3 separate regions of the Homo sapiens genome follow, and all the other regions are linked to region 2. Evidence: promoter capture Hi-C in human tissues and cell types (Jung and others, 2019). All regions are on one chromosome and are shown on one strand. The core of a region is centred on a gene start or on the middle of the fragment in contact, and the rest is flanking DNA. Distances in the headings are between cores, read along the strand shown.

Region 1 (4,634 bases), core at 319-2,818, 380 kb after region 2:
GAGACCCCATCTCAAAAAAAAAAAAAAAAAGAAATTCTAAATGGGCTGGGCGTGGTGGCTCATGGTAATCCCAGCATTTTGGGAGGCCAGGACAGGCAGATCATGAGGTCATGAATTCGAGACCAGCCTGGCCAACATAGTGAAACCCTGTCTCTACTAAAAATACCAAAAAAATTGGCTGGGGGTGGTGGCAGGTGCCTGCAGTCTCAGCTACTTGGGAGGCTGAGGCAGGAAAATCACTCTAACCAGGGAGGCAGAGGTTGCAGTGATCTGAGACTGCACCATTGCACTCCAGCCTGGGCAACACAGTGAGACTTTGTCTCAAAAAAAAAAAAAAAAAATTCTAAATGAAGTTCTTCAGACTAAAAGGAAATGACACTAGACAGTAACTCAAATTCACAGGAAAGAAAAAGGGGCAAAAAAAAGAAAGGTAAAATATGGATGATACAAAAAAACAAGTATACTTTTTTTCTCTTTGAATTTCTTTCTTTTTTAAATAGAGATGGAGTCTCGCTATGTTGCCCAGGCTGGTGTTGAACTCCTGGCCTCAAGTGATCCTCCTGCCTTGGCCTCCCAAGGCTTTGGGATTACAGGCATGAACCACAGTGTCCAGATCTTAATTTCTTTTCTTTTCTTTTTTTTTTTTTTTTTAGGCAGAGTCTCGCTCTGTCATCTAGGCTGTAATGCAGTGGTGCGATCTTGCTCACTGCAACCTCCGCTTCCCAGGTTCAAGCGATTCTCTTGCCTCAGCCTCCCGAGTAGCTGGGATTACAGACACCCACCACCACACCCGGCTACTTTTTGTATTTTTAGTAGAGACGGGGTTTCACCATGTTGGCCAGGCTGGTCTTAAACTCCTGACCTCCGGTGATCCACTCACCTCAGCCTCCCAAAGTGCTGGGATTAGAGATAAAAGCCACCATTCCTAGTCCCTTTACTTCTGAGATAAGATCTGCACCCAGGCTGGAGTGCAGTGGCACAATCTCAGCTCACTGCAGCCTTGACTTCCCAGGCTCAAGTGATCCTCCCACCTTAGCTGGGATCCTCCCCCAAATAGCTGGGACTACAGGCGCGTGCCACCATGCCAGACTAATTTTTTGTAATTTTGGTGGAGATGGGTTTCGTCATGTTGCCCAGGCTGGTCTCCAACTCCCTGGCTCAGGCGATCTGCCCACCTCAGCCCCCAAAAGTGCTGGAGTTAAAGGCATAAGCCACTGCCTCCAGGCAACTTCTTTCAAAATACTTTTGAAGCAATAATTATAACGCTGAAGAGCTGAAGTTATAACATACATAAATGTATATATGGCAATAATACATGAAGGAGAAGAGGGGATGGAGCTATGTCAGAGGAGAAGGGAGGATGGAGCTATGTCAGAGGACAAGGGAGGATGGAACTATGTCAGAGGAGAAGGGAGGATGGAGCTATGTCAGAGGAGAAGGGAGGATGGAGCTATGTCAGAGGAGAAGGGAGGATGGAGCTATGTCAGAGGAGAAGGGAGGATGGAGCTATGTCAGAGGAGAAGGGAGGATGGAGCTATGTCAGAGGAGAAGGGAGGATGGAGCTATGCCAGAGGAGAAGGGAGGATGGAGCTGTGTCATAGGAGAAGGGAGGATGGAGCTGTGTCATAGGAGAAGGGAGGATGGAGCTGTGTCATAGGAGAAGGGAGGATGGAGCTGTGTCATAGGAGAAGGGAGGATGGAGCTGTGTCATAGGAGAAGGGAGGATGGAGCTATGCCAGAGGAGAAGGGAGGATGGAGCTGTGTCAGAGGAGAAGGGAGGATGGAGCTATGACACAGGAGAAGGGAGGATGGAGCTATGTCAGAGGAGAAGGGAGGATGGAGCTGTGTCATAGGAGAAGGGAGGATGGAGCTATGTCAGAGGAGAAGGGAGGATGGAGCTGTGTCATAGGAGAAGGGAGGATGGAGCTATGCCAGAGGAGAAGGGAGGACGTCATAGGAGGAGGGAGGATGGAACTATGTCAGAGGAAAAGGGAGGTTGGGACTGTGCTATAGGAAAATGGAGGGGGAACTATGTCATAGTACAACGGAAGTAGATCTATGTTATAGACACGTTGCCATACTTAGGCTCAGTGCAGTCGCTCACACCTGTAATCCCAGCACTTTGGGAGGCCAAGATGGGCGGATCACCTGAGGTCAGCAGTTCGAGACCAGCCTGACCAACATGGTGAAACCTCATCTCTACTAAAAATACAAAATTAGCCGGGTGTGGTGGGGGTGCCTGTAGTCCCAGCTACTCAGGAGGCTGAGGCAGGAGAATGGCGTGAACCTGGGAGGCGGAGGTTGCAGTGAGCCGAGATCACACCATTGCACTCCAGCCTGGGTGACAGAGTGAAACTCCATAAAAAAAAAAATGCTGTACTTTAAGTGTTAAGTTAGTAATAATCTGAAGTACATTGTGGTAAGTTAAAGATGTACATTGTCATCTCTAGAGCAACCACTAAGAAAATAACTTAAAACAGCATAGCTAAAAATTCAGCAACAGAGCTGGATATCACCAAAATGATGGAGTTGGCAGCTCCAAAGATCCGTCTCTCCAGCAAAGCAACTATTCTGCTGTCAAAACTGTCACAATAAACTTTTTTCTATTCAGCTGTCAAAACTGTCACAATAAACTTTTTTCTATTAAACTGTCAAAACCTCCCAATAAACTTTTCTGTAACTCTGGTGTCTACGAACCAGATGACTGCTCAATGAAGTAAGACCCTGCTAAATTTCAGGAGGACAGCTGGGCTATTTCTGCTCAGCCACTACTACCAGCTCACATGTAGCCATGGGGAAGGCAACCTGTATTTCTGATGTGGCTTGCTGGTGTCAGAAGGGATGATACAGACCTTTTCTCAAGGAATCCTGCTTATGCATTTGGATCTTTCTAGTGTCTCCCTGAAGGGCTTGCCTTTGTTTCACCCCCTCGAACTCTCTCAGGGCTGGGGCAGCCTCCAGGGTCGTGCTGTTGATGGCATTTTTTTTTTTTTTTTTTCCCCGAGATGGAGTCTCACTCTGTCGCCCAGGCTGGAGTGCAATGGCACGATCTCAGCTCACTGCAACCTCCGCCTCCCAGGCTCAAGCAATTCTCCTGCTTCAGCCTCCCGAGTAGCTGAGATTACAGGCACCCACCACGCCCAGCTAATTTTTGTATTTTTACTAGAGACGGGGCTTCACCATGTTGGCCAGGCTGGTCTCGAACTCCTGACCTCAAGCAATTCACCCGCCTCGGCCTCCCAAAGTGCTGGGATAACAGGTATGAGCCACCGCGCCTGGCCTGAAGGCATTTACAGGTAGATACTACCTGAAGTTGTGGGGGAGGGACAACAACAGATGGGCAAAGAGCTGACAGAAAAGCCTAGGAAGGAAGAGGCTGGGAAAAGAGCTACATGAAGGTCTAAGGGCTTTGGAAAGCTCCTGTTCATGCTTGGAAATCCAGAAGGCCATGCACACAGCTGGGGCTAGACAGGGGCTCAGAAACACCTGAGGAGGCCCTCAACTTTCACCTCTGGTTCATCCTTAGGCTCCATGGGAGCAAGAAGTAAAGGCTGAGGAAAAGCCGTGAACAGCCTGGCGGACACTGAAGGACTTGCCCCAGTACAGAGGCAACCTGGAAAGGATGGAAGACACTCTTTATCCTTTTTTTTTTTTTTTTTATTTGAGACAGAGTCTCGCTCTGTTGCCCAGGCTGGAGTGCAATGGCGCAATCTCAGCTCACTGCAACCTCCGCCCCCTGGGTTGAAGCGATTCTCCTGCCTCAGTCTTCCCAGTAGCTGGGACTACAGGCAGGTGCCACCATGCCCGGTTAATTTTTGTATTTTTAGTAGAGACAGGGTTTCACCATACTGGCCAGGCTGATCTTAAACTCCTGACCTCAAGTGATCCACCCGCCTCCACTTCCCAAAGTCCTAGCATTACAGGCGTGAGCCACTGCGCCCGGCCTCTTTATCCTTTTTGCCACTAGATATTTAAAGAAATCTCTTTCAAAGCACAAGCTAACCACTAACCTAAAAGAACAGAAACAAGCACCCCTGACAGAATATAATCTTTATTTAAAAAGGTCAGGAAAGTAACTAAACAAACGAGAAACGACAATCCACAACAAACAGCAACAATGAACCCTGCAGAGGGCGGAGGATCTGATTTTCAAAGTAACCACATTATCATCTTCAAATTGTGCAGGTTTCAACAAAAAATTACAAGGCATGCAAAGAAACAAGAAAGTGTGGCCCATTCACCGGAAATAAAGAAATTAACAGGCCGGGTGCGGTGGCTCACACCTGTAATCTCAACACCTTGGGAGGCCAAGGTGGGATGACTGCTTGAGCCCAGGAGTTCAAGACCAGTCAGAGAAATGTAGCAAGACCCTGTGTCTAAAACAGTAACAACACAACCAGCCAGGCATGGTGGCACATGCTTGTAGTTCTAGCTACTCAGGAGACTAAGGTGGGAGACTCACTTAAGCCTGGACGGTTAAGGCTGCAGTGTGCCAGGGTTGTGCCACTGCACTACAGCCTGGGTGAGAGAGGGAGACTTTGTCTCAAAAAATAAAAAATAGGCTGGGCGCGGTGGCTCACACCTGTAATTCCAGCACTTTGGGAGGCCGAGGCAGGAGGATCATGAGGTCACGA
Region 2 (4,358 bases), core at 1,127-3,626:
GTGCCAGACCAGCCTTCAGGACAGGCTCAGGAGAGCAGAGCTAGAGTCTGGGAGGGGCTCCGATTCCCAGACTCACCAGATACCGGTGGAGGGAAGAGGACCCAGACTCGTGGTTGGCTTCAGAGGAAGCCAGACACACAGTGGGATCTTTGCATGGGAAGATTCTGTGCTCTGAGGGATGCCTCTGACACTGGGCTCCCCACTACTGAGGCTTAAGGGAAGACCCTCCTGGAACACCCTGCTCTGAAGAAGGTGTGGGTGGCAGTCGGTATCCTGCAGGGCAAAGACCAGCAGGGGTGCCCAGAGCTCAGGCCACACGGGGGTCACTGGGCAGGCTGCCAGCCAGCCCTGGGGGGCAGAGGAAGGCACCGGCACTAGCCTGGGCCCCTCCCAAAATGCATGGAAGGGAGAGGCCCCCAGCAATGCCCCCAGGGAGGCCCAGAGTCAGGCAGTGTGGCCAGCCCCACCCCAGGACAGCAGCTCGGTGACAGCAGGCCCCCAGGGAGGCCCAGAATCAGGCCAGCGTGGCCAGCCCCACCCCAGGACAGCAGCTCGGTGACAGCAGGCCTGGGACATTCTCCCAGTGCCCGGTGCTGAGGCCATGGTCGGCCGCTCCCCAGCCAAGACCAGTGACCGCCTGGCCCAGCCCACACCCTGGTCAATGCCTGGGCCACCACATGCCAGGCCTGGCCTCTCTGTGTCACGCCTCTGGTTTCCAGGAGCTGTGAACTGACCCCTCCCGACCCCACGAACACCCCAAATCACAAAATTCAGCCCCAATGCACCCTCTCCTCACGGCTGCTAATCACCATCCCCTGACCTTGTGGGCGTCAAGCTCCACTTATGTGACAAACTGTGGCTACAAGCCCCACGCTCCCTCGAGACACACCCACAGATCCCCCCCACCGCCATCCCCAAACTGGCTGAAGAGGAGTGTGAGATATCTCAGCAGGGTTCCCTGACCCCGGACTCAACATCCACATGGCACAGCCCATAGAAGGGTAGCTCGGGGCCCACCCACAGTGTACCCTCAGGCTGGCGACATCAGGGTACTCAGGGCGACTGCCCAGGCTCCTGTCCTAACCAATAGACTTGACAGAGCAACTCTCAGGAAAGAAGGCCGACCATGAGTGTGCGGTGACATCCTTGCAACCCCACAGGCAGCGGGCACAGTCTCGATGGGCAGACACATCTCCCCAGACTGAAAACACACAGTGACCAGGCACGGTGGGTCATGGCTATAACCTGAGCACTTTGGGAGGCTGAGGTAGAGGCTGAAGCTCAGGAGATCGAGACCAGCCTGGGCAACATGGTGAAACCCCGTCTCTACAAAAAAAAACACAAAAATTAGCCAGGCATGGTGGCACATGCCTGTAGTCCCAGCTACTTGAGAGGCTGAGGTGGGAGGATCACCTGAGCCCAGGGAGGTCAGGGCTGCAGTGAGCCATGATAGTGCCACTGCACCCCAGCCTGGGTGACAGGGCAAGACCCTGTCTCAAAAAAGAAGAAAGGAAAGAAAACACAGACCCTCTGACCCAACACGTCTCCGCTGAGGAGCGGCTCTGAGACTGGCGACTGCTCGTGTCAGCTGTGGCGTTGCCTGCAAAGCAGGTCCAGATGCGGCCGAGCTGCACACACACGGGTTGGATAAGCCAGGGTGCGTCCAGCAAGGAAGAAAAGCAGGGAGAAGGGAAGGACTTAAAGACCAACCCAGAGCAGAGTGTGATGCTCACCACCTCTGCAGGACGGCGGGAGAGTTACGTGTCAGCGTGAGAACGTCTTCTCTGCAGCCTTTCACAGCTTGCCTAGGCTGAGTTCCTCTTTTAGCAAAAGACAAAAAAAGAAGGTGGGTTGCCTATGGCCAACAAGTTCTGCTTCCACATGAGGGCATACAGACCCCCCAGATGCCCACACTCAGCCAAGGACATGTAGACCCACTCAGATACAACGCAGAGCTCACCCACAGAGACCCCCATACAGGCAGACACAGGCCCACACACGTACATGTCCTAACTGGCACACACACACAGGAACACACCATGTACACACACAGGGTGGGGCAGGAGACCCACCAAGACACCCATGTTCACAGATAAGGGTGCCCAGGCCCACAGTGACTCCCGGACAGAGGCACAGATGCCTTCAGTGCCCTCTGCCCGAAGACCTGGGCACACCCAGAGGCCCCTGCATGGAGTCCCTTCCTGACACACAGGCGCACACGTGCCTCAGCCGCCCACTGAGGAGTCTGCCTGGGTAAGTGAATGCTGAGGAGACCCTGGGACAGCCGACTGCAGGCGCTACTGCAGCTCAGGGGAAGGTGGGGCCTGCCTTCCGGGCTCCACGTCAGCAAGGGGGATCCGCCTCCCTCCCTCACCAGCATCAGCACTGACACCAGGCTGGGAACCTCGCAGCCGGGGCTGAGGCAGCCAGCAGGGCAGGTCTTGAAACTCCTGAAACCTCAGCTGGAGGTCTGTCAGTGAGGACCACACCTCGCCCTCCATCCCTGCGACTGCCTGTACTGGCCAAAACCAGGAACACACCAAGGCTACCAACTTCTGGACTCGAAGCACTGGACAGGTCAGTGGAGAGAAGAGTAGCTGGACCAGCAGGGTCTGCAGCATCTCTCGGGAGGGTGTGAGGGAGGGTGCAGACTCCAAGACCCCTGAGGGAAGGACCTTCAGATTCAAGGGAGCCAGAGATGAGCTTGGGAGGTGTGTTTCCAAAGGGACCGCTTGATTCTACGCAGCCCGTGCATCTGCGGGTTGCTGGGGCAGGGACGGATCCACATCTCTTCCCAGGAGGGTGGCCAGCAGCTGCTCTCTGCGGGAGGAGGGAACTGATCTGCTGAAGTCTCACCAGGAAGAGGCGGGAGGAGGCCCCCACACACCCCACCAGGCTCCCTCTGGCCCCATGTCCTTGACCTGGCAAAGTGGCCGCAGTCTCTGCCAGAGAACCTGGAGTGGCTGTGCCCTAACAGACGGCCGGATCTCAAAGTCTCTGGTTGTTTTTCTTTCCTAGAATCCAGCCCAAGGAGGCCCCCAACCAGATACCCAACTCCAAGGCACCTCCCACCTGCCCAGGGCGCAAATCGTCAACGGTCCCAGCTACAATGCAGGCCGCTGGGCACCCAGAGCCCCTTGACAGCAGGGGCTCCTTCTCCCTCCCCACGATGGGTGCCAACGTCTCTCAGGACAATGGCACTGGCCACAATGCCACCTTCTCCGAGCCACTGCCGTTCCTCTATGTGCTCCTGCCCGCCGTGTACTCCGGGATCTGTGCTGTGGGGCTGACTGGCAACACGGCCGTCATCCTTGTAATCCTAAGGGCGCCCAAGATGAAGACGGTGACCAACGTGTTCATCCTGAACCTGGCCGTCGCCGACGGGCTCTTCACGCTGGTACTGCCCGTCAACATCGCGGAGCACCTGCTGCAGTACTGGCCCTTCGGGGAGCTGCTCTGCAAGCTGGTGCTGGCCGTCGACCACTACAACATCTTCTCCAGCATCTACTTCCTAGCCGTGATGAGCGTGGACCGATACCTGGTGGTGCTGGCCACCGTGAGGTCCCGCCACATGCCCTGGCGCACCTACCGGGGGGCGAAGGTCGCCAGCCTGTGTGTCTGGCTGGGCGTCACGGTCCTGGTTCTGCCCTTCTTCTCTTTCGCTGGCGTCTACAGCAACGAGCTGCAGGTCCCAAGCTGTGGGCTGAGCTTCCCGTGGCCCGAGCAGGTCTGGTTCAAGGCCAGCCGTGTCTACACGTTGGTCCTGGGCTTCGTGCTGCCCGTGTGCACCATCTGTGTGCTCTACACAGACCTCCTGCGCAGGCTGCGGGCCGTGCGGCTCCGCTCTGGAGCCAAGGCTCTAGGCAAGGCCAGGCGGAAGGTGACCGTCCTGGTCCTCGTCGTGCTGGCCGTGTGCCTCCTCTGCTGGACGCCCTTCCACCTGGCCTCTGTCGTGGCCCTGACCACGGACCTGCCCCAGACCCCACTGGTCATCAGTATGTCCTACGTCATCACCAGCCTCAGCTACGCCAACTCGTGCCTGAACCCCTTCCTCTACGCCTTTCTAGATGACAACTTCCGGAAGAACTTCCGCAGCATATTGCGGTGCTGAAGGGCCTGGGCACCATCACCCCCATCATCATGCCCATCATCACCCCCCATCATCATCACGCCCATCATCATCATGCCCACACCCCCATCAGGCCCACCCCCCCCCACCCCCACCACCACCCCCACCATCACCCCCACCACCACCCCCATCATCACGCCCATCATCATGCCCACCCCCATCACATCCACCATCACGCCCACCCCCATCACCCCCACCCCCACCATCACGCCCACCATCACCCCCACCC
Region 3 (4,876 bases), core at 2,377-4,876, 410 kb after region 2:
TAGGCATCCGGAGGCTTTGGAGGGGAGTCTGGCAGCCCGGCTGGCCCAGGCCCTGCAGCGGCAGCCTTTCCACAGGGCGCAGCGGCGGCCTTTCGAGGCCCTTTCTGGGGGGTCTGAGGGAGACCTGGTTGGGAATTGGGGCTCCAGTGCTCAGGCTGGCTTGGGCTGCATGAGGACAGCCCTGTGGGACCCTCGGGAGACCCCGTGGCTGTCTCCGCCCCATCGAGGAGGAGGCCCGTCAGCCATGGCTGCCATCTGGCTTCTGCCCTGTGACCCCGTGACCCCGTGACCCCGGAAGTGGTCTGGGGCTGATCTTGCCTTGAGGAAGACCCAGGCCATGTTCCCAAAGGCCAGCGGGGGCCCTGGATTGTGATGCAGCCTCGGGACAGGGCTGAGGCCTGCGGGGGAAGACCTATACCCCACGCCTGGGCCTGGCTTCACCTCACCCTAATCCCCCGGGAGGGAGCTGACTGATGCAAAAAGCTGAGGGGGCCTGCTGGGAGTGGCTGTTTTTATGCCCCAGCCCCGCAAGTTGGGGAGTGTTTGTGGGGGTCCAGAGCCCTCCCCCAGCCAGGAGAGAACCTCCCGGAGGGGTTCTCTGTGGGGCCCTGTGTCCCCTGCTCGGGAGTAAGGCTGGTCCTGGGGTCCTCCCTGCACGGACCCCACTGGGCCTGCCGAGTGCTGTGTTCTTCCTCAGTCTGGCTGTGGGCAGGAGCGGCCTGCCCAGTGTCACCCAGGGTGAGTGCAAAATAAAGACGGCGAGTGTGGCTCTGTCCATCCCTTCCCTCCTGGAGGGTGGAGGCTCCTGGCTGTTGGACACGGTGATGGTGTTACTGGGCTGCTCAGGGGCTGGTGGGCAGGTGAGGGGCTCCCCAGGTGGGCCTGGAGAGTCCAGGCACTCCCTTCCTGCGGATGTGGGAAGGACATGGGGTCCTGGGAGGAGCTGCTGGGAAGGGGCATGAGTCAGGGTGGGGGTGGCGCAGCAGCTGCGGGGCTGTGACTCACAGGAGTCGGGCCCTGGAAGTCCCCGCGTCCTCTCCAGGGGACCCTGTGTGTGTTCTGCAGGTTGGTTCCCAGGACCTGGGGGGGACCTCCAGCCCCGGGAACCTGGCCGTGCTGGGGAGGCGAGTGGCTGGTGCAGCCCCCCGGTTGCTCTGGGTGCATCGGGAGGCTTCAGAGCCTGCCCCAGAGAGGGAGAAGCTTCACTTCCCGGAAAGCATGGGAGGCCTGGAGGAGGTCTTTGGCAGGTCCCCTCTCGGGAAATCCCCTGTGAGTTGGGAGTGGGAGGAATTCATAAGTGGGGGGTTAGTGTGGGCCCCGGCGACTAGGGCTGGCCTGAGCCCCATCCTGTTCTTCCAGCAATGATACCCTCCCAGGCCCTGACCCTCGCTGAGCTTCAGGGGCCCCTGCCACGTGCCACAGCCACTGGGGGCAGAGGTGGCACTCCCCACTGATCCTCCCAGGGAGGGTCTGTCTGAGGTAGGGGAAGCCCCGGGCAGCAGTTCTGATGGCAGGCAGCCTGAGGGATCTGGGCACAGCGGGCGGCTCAGGTGTCCCCGGCTGCCCTCCCAGTAGCTGTGCAACTACAACCAGTTTTATGAAAAAGCTTTATAAAAATAAGCTTTAAGAAACCTCATTTCTTCTATTTAAAAAAAAGCCTCTTTCAGTGCAAGTGGGGTGCCAAGGATGTAGAATAAATAAGAGGGGGCCAGGATCAGTGCACAGGGAGGAAGCGCTCACGGACGCTCCGCTCCAGCCCGGGCATCCTGGCCACGCGCAGCGCCTGCAGCAGCCGCACCAGCAGCGCCCCGTCCTGCGCCCCCAGGAGCTCCGTGAGCCGCCGACGCAGCTTCAGCTGCAAGGCCGCGCGGCCCGCCCTTGGTGTCGGACCCCAGCCCTCCGGGGCCTCGAGGGCCTGCAGCAGCCGCTGCAGCCTCTTGATGGAGATGTCCTGGAAAGCCACAAAGTCGATGACGGCACGCTCACACTCCTCAGCTCCTGCAGTGGGGTGGGGAGGCAGCGGTCCGATCATTTCACCCACACACACTGGCGGGGGCTGCCAGGTACCCTGCTTTCTGGGCCCCACTCGGGGGGTTTGCAGGAGAGAGAAATCCCTGTGCAGTGAGCCGTGCTGGAGAGGGCAGTGCAACGATGGGGACTGGAGAAGGGGCAGGAGCCTTCGGTCAGAGAGCTGGAGCAAAGGCCTAGGGGGCAGGAGCGGCCACTCGGACCTTGGCTGCAAGAGGCAAGGGGGCCCAGGCAAGGGCTTGGGGCTCCTGGGCCATCGGAAGGGGCGAGTTGGGACCTGCAGATGGACCGGACCTGACTTGATGTTAAGGGGGTCACTTCCCCCTGTGACTTCTCAACAGTGGTTAACATTGGGCCTCGGTTTCCCCATGTCAGAGGAGGCAGCCACCTTCCTCTCAGGCAGTTAGGAGAGTTACCATCAGGCCTCGGTTTCCCCGTGTCAGAGGAGCCAGCCACCTTCCCCTCGGGCAGTTAGGAGATTGCTGCCCACTTTCCCAGAGCTCCCCAGGGGAGGCTGTGCCCTGGCTCAGATCCAAATTCTCAGCCACCCCTGAGAGGGCAGACTTGGTGGGGATCTAGTGGAGGGACCCCTGACCCCTCAAATCCACTGTGGCCCCTTCCCAGAGCCAGCTGGCATGCCTCAGGCTAGATGCACGTGCAGGGGCAGGAGTGAGGGCACAAGTGGGCCTGGCCTGCAGTGTGCTGCCCCCTCAGGCCTCTGGCTCACCTGGTACCCTGGTGCTGAGGGGGAAGCCAGTGCAGCTGGTGCACAGGGTGTCATGGGAGGAAGAGCCTGGCACATTGAGGGCCAGGCCCAGGGCCGTGCAGTTGCGGTGGGGCTGGCACTGCTCTGAGCTGGAGCTGCTGGCTGAGAAGGTGCCTGGGGGGCACGGCTGGCACTGCGTGTTCTGGCTGGGGGTGCCTGCAGCCAGGAGGGAAGAACAGGGTCAGGGGAACTGGTGTCCTAGCTCAGGGTGCAAGGCTGGGACCAGCAACCTGACCCCTGCCACACCTCCGGCCACCACTCCTGGGGGCCCCTCCCCTCGCCCAGCTCTCACCCGGGGCAATCACGCCGGCACCAGGTGGACACGATGCGTGCTCCAAGCAGAAACCAGCGTGCGCGAAGAAGCCGGTGCGGCAGCGGCAGGCACGGTTGTGGGTGGCGTGGCAAGCCCGTGCCTCCTCCTCACGCTCCCCGCAGAGGACGTTGCAGTAGCGGCAGCGCTCTAGGTAGTTCCAGAACTGCGTGTAGTGGCGCGGTGGACACGGGCCACACGTCGTGGGGCTGTCTCGGCGGCACGGCCGCTGCACAAAGGTGCCTGGGGGGCACTGGGCGCACACCAGCCGCTCCCCTGTCTCTGCGTCCCGCCAGGGGTAGGTGGGTGTTTCTGCCACTCCGCGTACAGCCGGCACCGGCAGCAGGGCAGGCAGCGCCAACACCAGGCACAGCAGCGACAGGCCTGGCCCCTCCAGCGCCCTCATGGTCCTTGCTGGAGCAGGGAGAGCGCGGCTCAGCGCGGACACAGGACCCTGCTGTGCCTGACCGACATGCCACCTCCTTTGCCCCCGGTCCGCCTGCGGAGGGGCCGCCCAAGTCCAGAAGCCCATCCTGCTGCTGCCCTACATATATGGGCGGGGAGAGGGCTGGGCCAGCCTCGCCACGCCCCATAGGAACCCCTCCCTCCCCAGGCAGCCCCCCTCACCCACCTGGTACCATCCCTCCCCAGAGCTCAGTCCAAGGGTGGTTCTGGGAGGGGCCTCACCAGCCAGGGAGCTGCCCTCCTCAGCACCTGGGGCAGCTCCCAACCCAGAGACCAGCCCAGGCAGCCTGGTGTGTCGGTGGATCCCCTACCAACTGCAGCTTGGCTGCGGCTGTGAGGATGAGGGCAGGGCTGAGCCCACCGTGGAGGAAGTACAGTGTCACATGGCAGGCTGGGAGGGGCCTCTGCCAACTCCCTGTCCCTCAACTCCCACCACCAAGCCCAGGCCACGAAGACACCGTCCTGGGCACTGCCAGCAGCTTTATTAGAGAGCCCTGTCCCCTGATTAAAAGTGGACACGTGCCCACGGGGGTCTCCTCCTTCCCGGTGAGGGGCTCAGCTGGGGTGCCCCTGTGGCACCACTCACAGGCCAGGAGCCAGGGAAGTTCTGGGGAAGCACTTTCCCAGAAACCCACCCCAGACCCCAAGGTAGCTCAGGGCTTCTCAGAGGCAGGCCCAGATCCGGTCCCACCGCAGGGACCAACCATGGGCCCCGCCTGCCTGAGGCCTGCAGCGGGCCAAGCCGGCTGGCATGGGCTGGCCTATTCTGTTGGGTGGGTTCTTGGCCCACCAGAGCTGGACAGGCAGGTGATCAAGCCACGTTGGGTGTGCTGGGGGCCTCCGTGGGCACTCACTGGGGCTCTGGCCAGAAGACCTGCATGACGCTCTGCTTCCTGGAGGCGGTGTGGCAGGCTGGGCACATCCTAGAGGCCTGTGAGACAACCGGCCCACTGCACACGTCTGCCAGGCGTTGCCACCAGGACAAGGGCCTGCCCTTTCCCCCTCAGCCCATCACCTGGGGCTACACCCAGCAGGAACTGTAGTGGCCAGGCACCAACCTGAAGGTGCCGTTGCCAGCAGGCTTGGCAGCGCTGGAAGTCACAGGCAGGGCACTGGAAGGGCACCACGTCCTCTGCCCCACAGCCCTGGCACACACAGCCTGCTGAGAGGGGCCCGCCCGGAGCTCCCGTGGCCTGCTGCCCAGCGATGTCTCTCCCATGAGGCTCACCCCACTCAGATGCTGCAGGCCCGTGGGGAGGTCCTGAGGACTGGCTGGGACCTGCATCCTCACCGCCCGCCCCCACAGT

What was found. Contacts are between HindIII fragments. The study calls those that stand out against the background at their distance.
Region 1: a fragment that was not itself captured here is called in contact with the fragment with the promoter of NPBWR2 in region 2 in 4 of the 25 tissues and cell types used here (dorsolateral prefrontal cortex, lymphoblastoid cells, spleen and 1 more).
Region 3: the fragment with the promoter of TNFRSF6B here is called in contact with the fragment with the promoter of NPBWR2 in region 2 in 1 of the 25 tissues and cell types used here (dorsolateral prefrontal cortex).

The regions. Positions count from the first base shown.
Region 1 is chr20:63,720,381-63,725,014 of GRCh38, reverse strand. All of the region lies in intron 2 of ZGPAT (zinc finger CCCH-type and G-patch domain containing), which reads right to left. Among named protein-coding and RNA genes, the nearest start is that of LIME1, 14 kb to the left of the region's middle. The HindIII fragment of the contact is 9,604 bases long and covers 1-4,634 here.
Region 2 is chr20:64,105,583-64,109,940 of GRCh38, reverse strand. NPBWR2 (neuropeptides B and W receptor 2) reads left to right here and starts at 2,376. Exons shown (of 2, transcript NM_005286.4): 1 at 2,376-2,577; 2 at 3,019-4,358. The coding sequence starts at 3,110. The coding sequence ends at 4,111. RefSeq lists a silencer at 161-344 and an enhancer at 2,328-2,828. The HindIII fragment of the contact is 24,186 bases long and covers 1-4,358 here.
Region 3 is chr20:63,695,402-63,700,277 of GRCh38, reverse strand. It overlaps TNFRSF6B (TNF receptor superfamily member 6b), which reads right to left and starts at 3,626. Exons shown (of 3, transcript NM_003823.4): 1 at 3,087-3,626; 2 at 2,756-2,950; 3 at 1,594-1,998. The coding sequence starts at 3,510. The coding sequence ends at 1,715. RTEL1 (regulator of telomere elongation helicase 1) reads right to left here. Exons shown (of 35, transcript NM_001283009.2): 34 at 4,628-4,876; 35 at 4,033-4,500. The coding sequence ends at 4,420. It overlaps RTEL1-TNFRSF6B (RTEL1-TNFRSF6B readthrough (NMD candidate)), which reads right to left. Exons shown (of 38, transcript NR_037882.1): 34 at 4,628-4,876; 35 at 4,424-4,500; 36 at 3,087-3,518; 37 at 2,756-2,950; 38 at 1,580-1,998. It overlaps ARFRP1 (ARF related protein 1), which reads left to right. Exons shown (of 8, transcript NM_001267547.3): 8 at 1-1,631. RefSeq lists enhancers at 637-716, 1-738, 787-836, 2,472-2,521, 4,282-4,331 and 2 more. The HindIII fragment of the contact is 5,085 bases long and covers 1,404-4,876 here.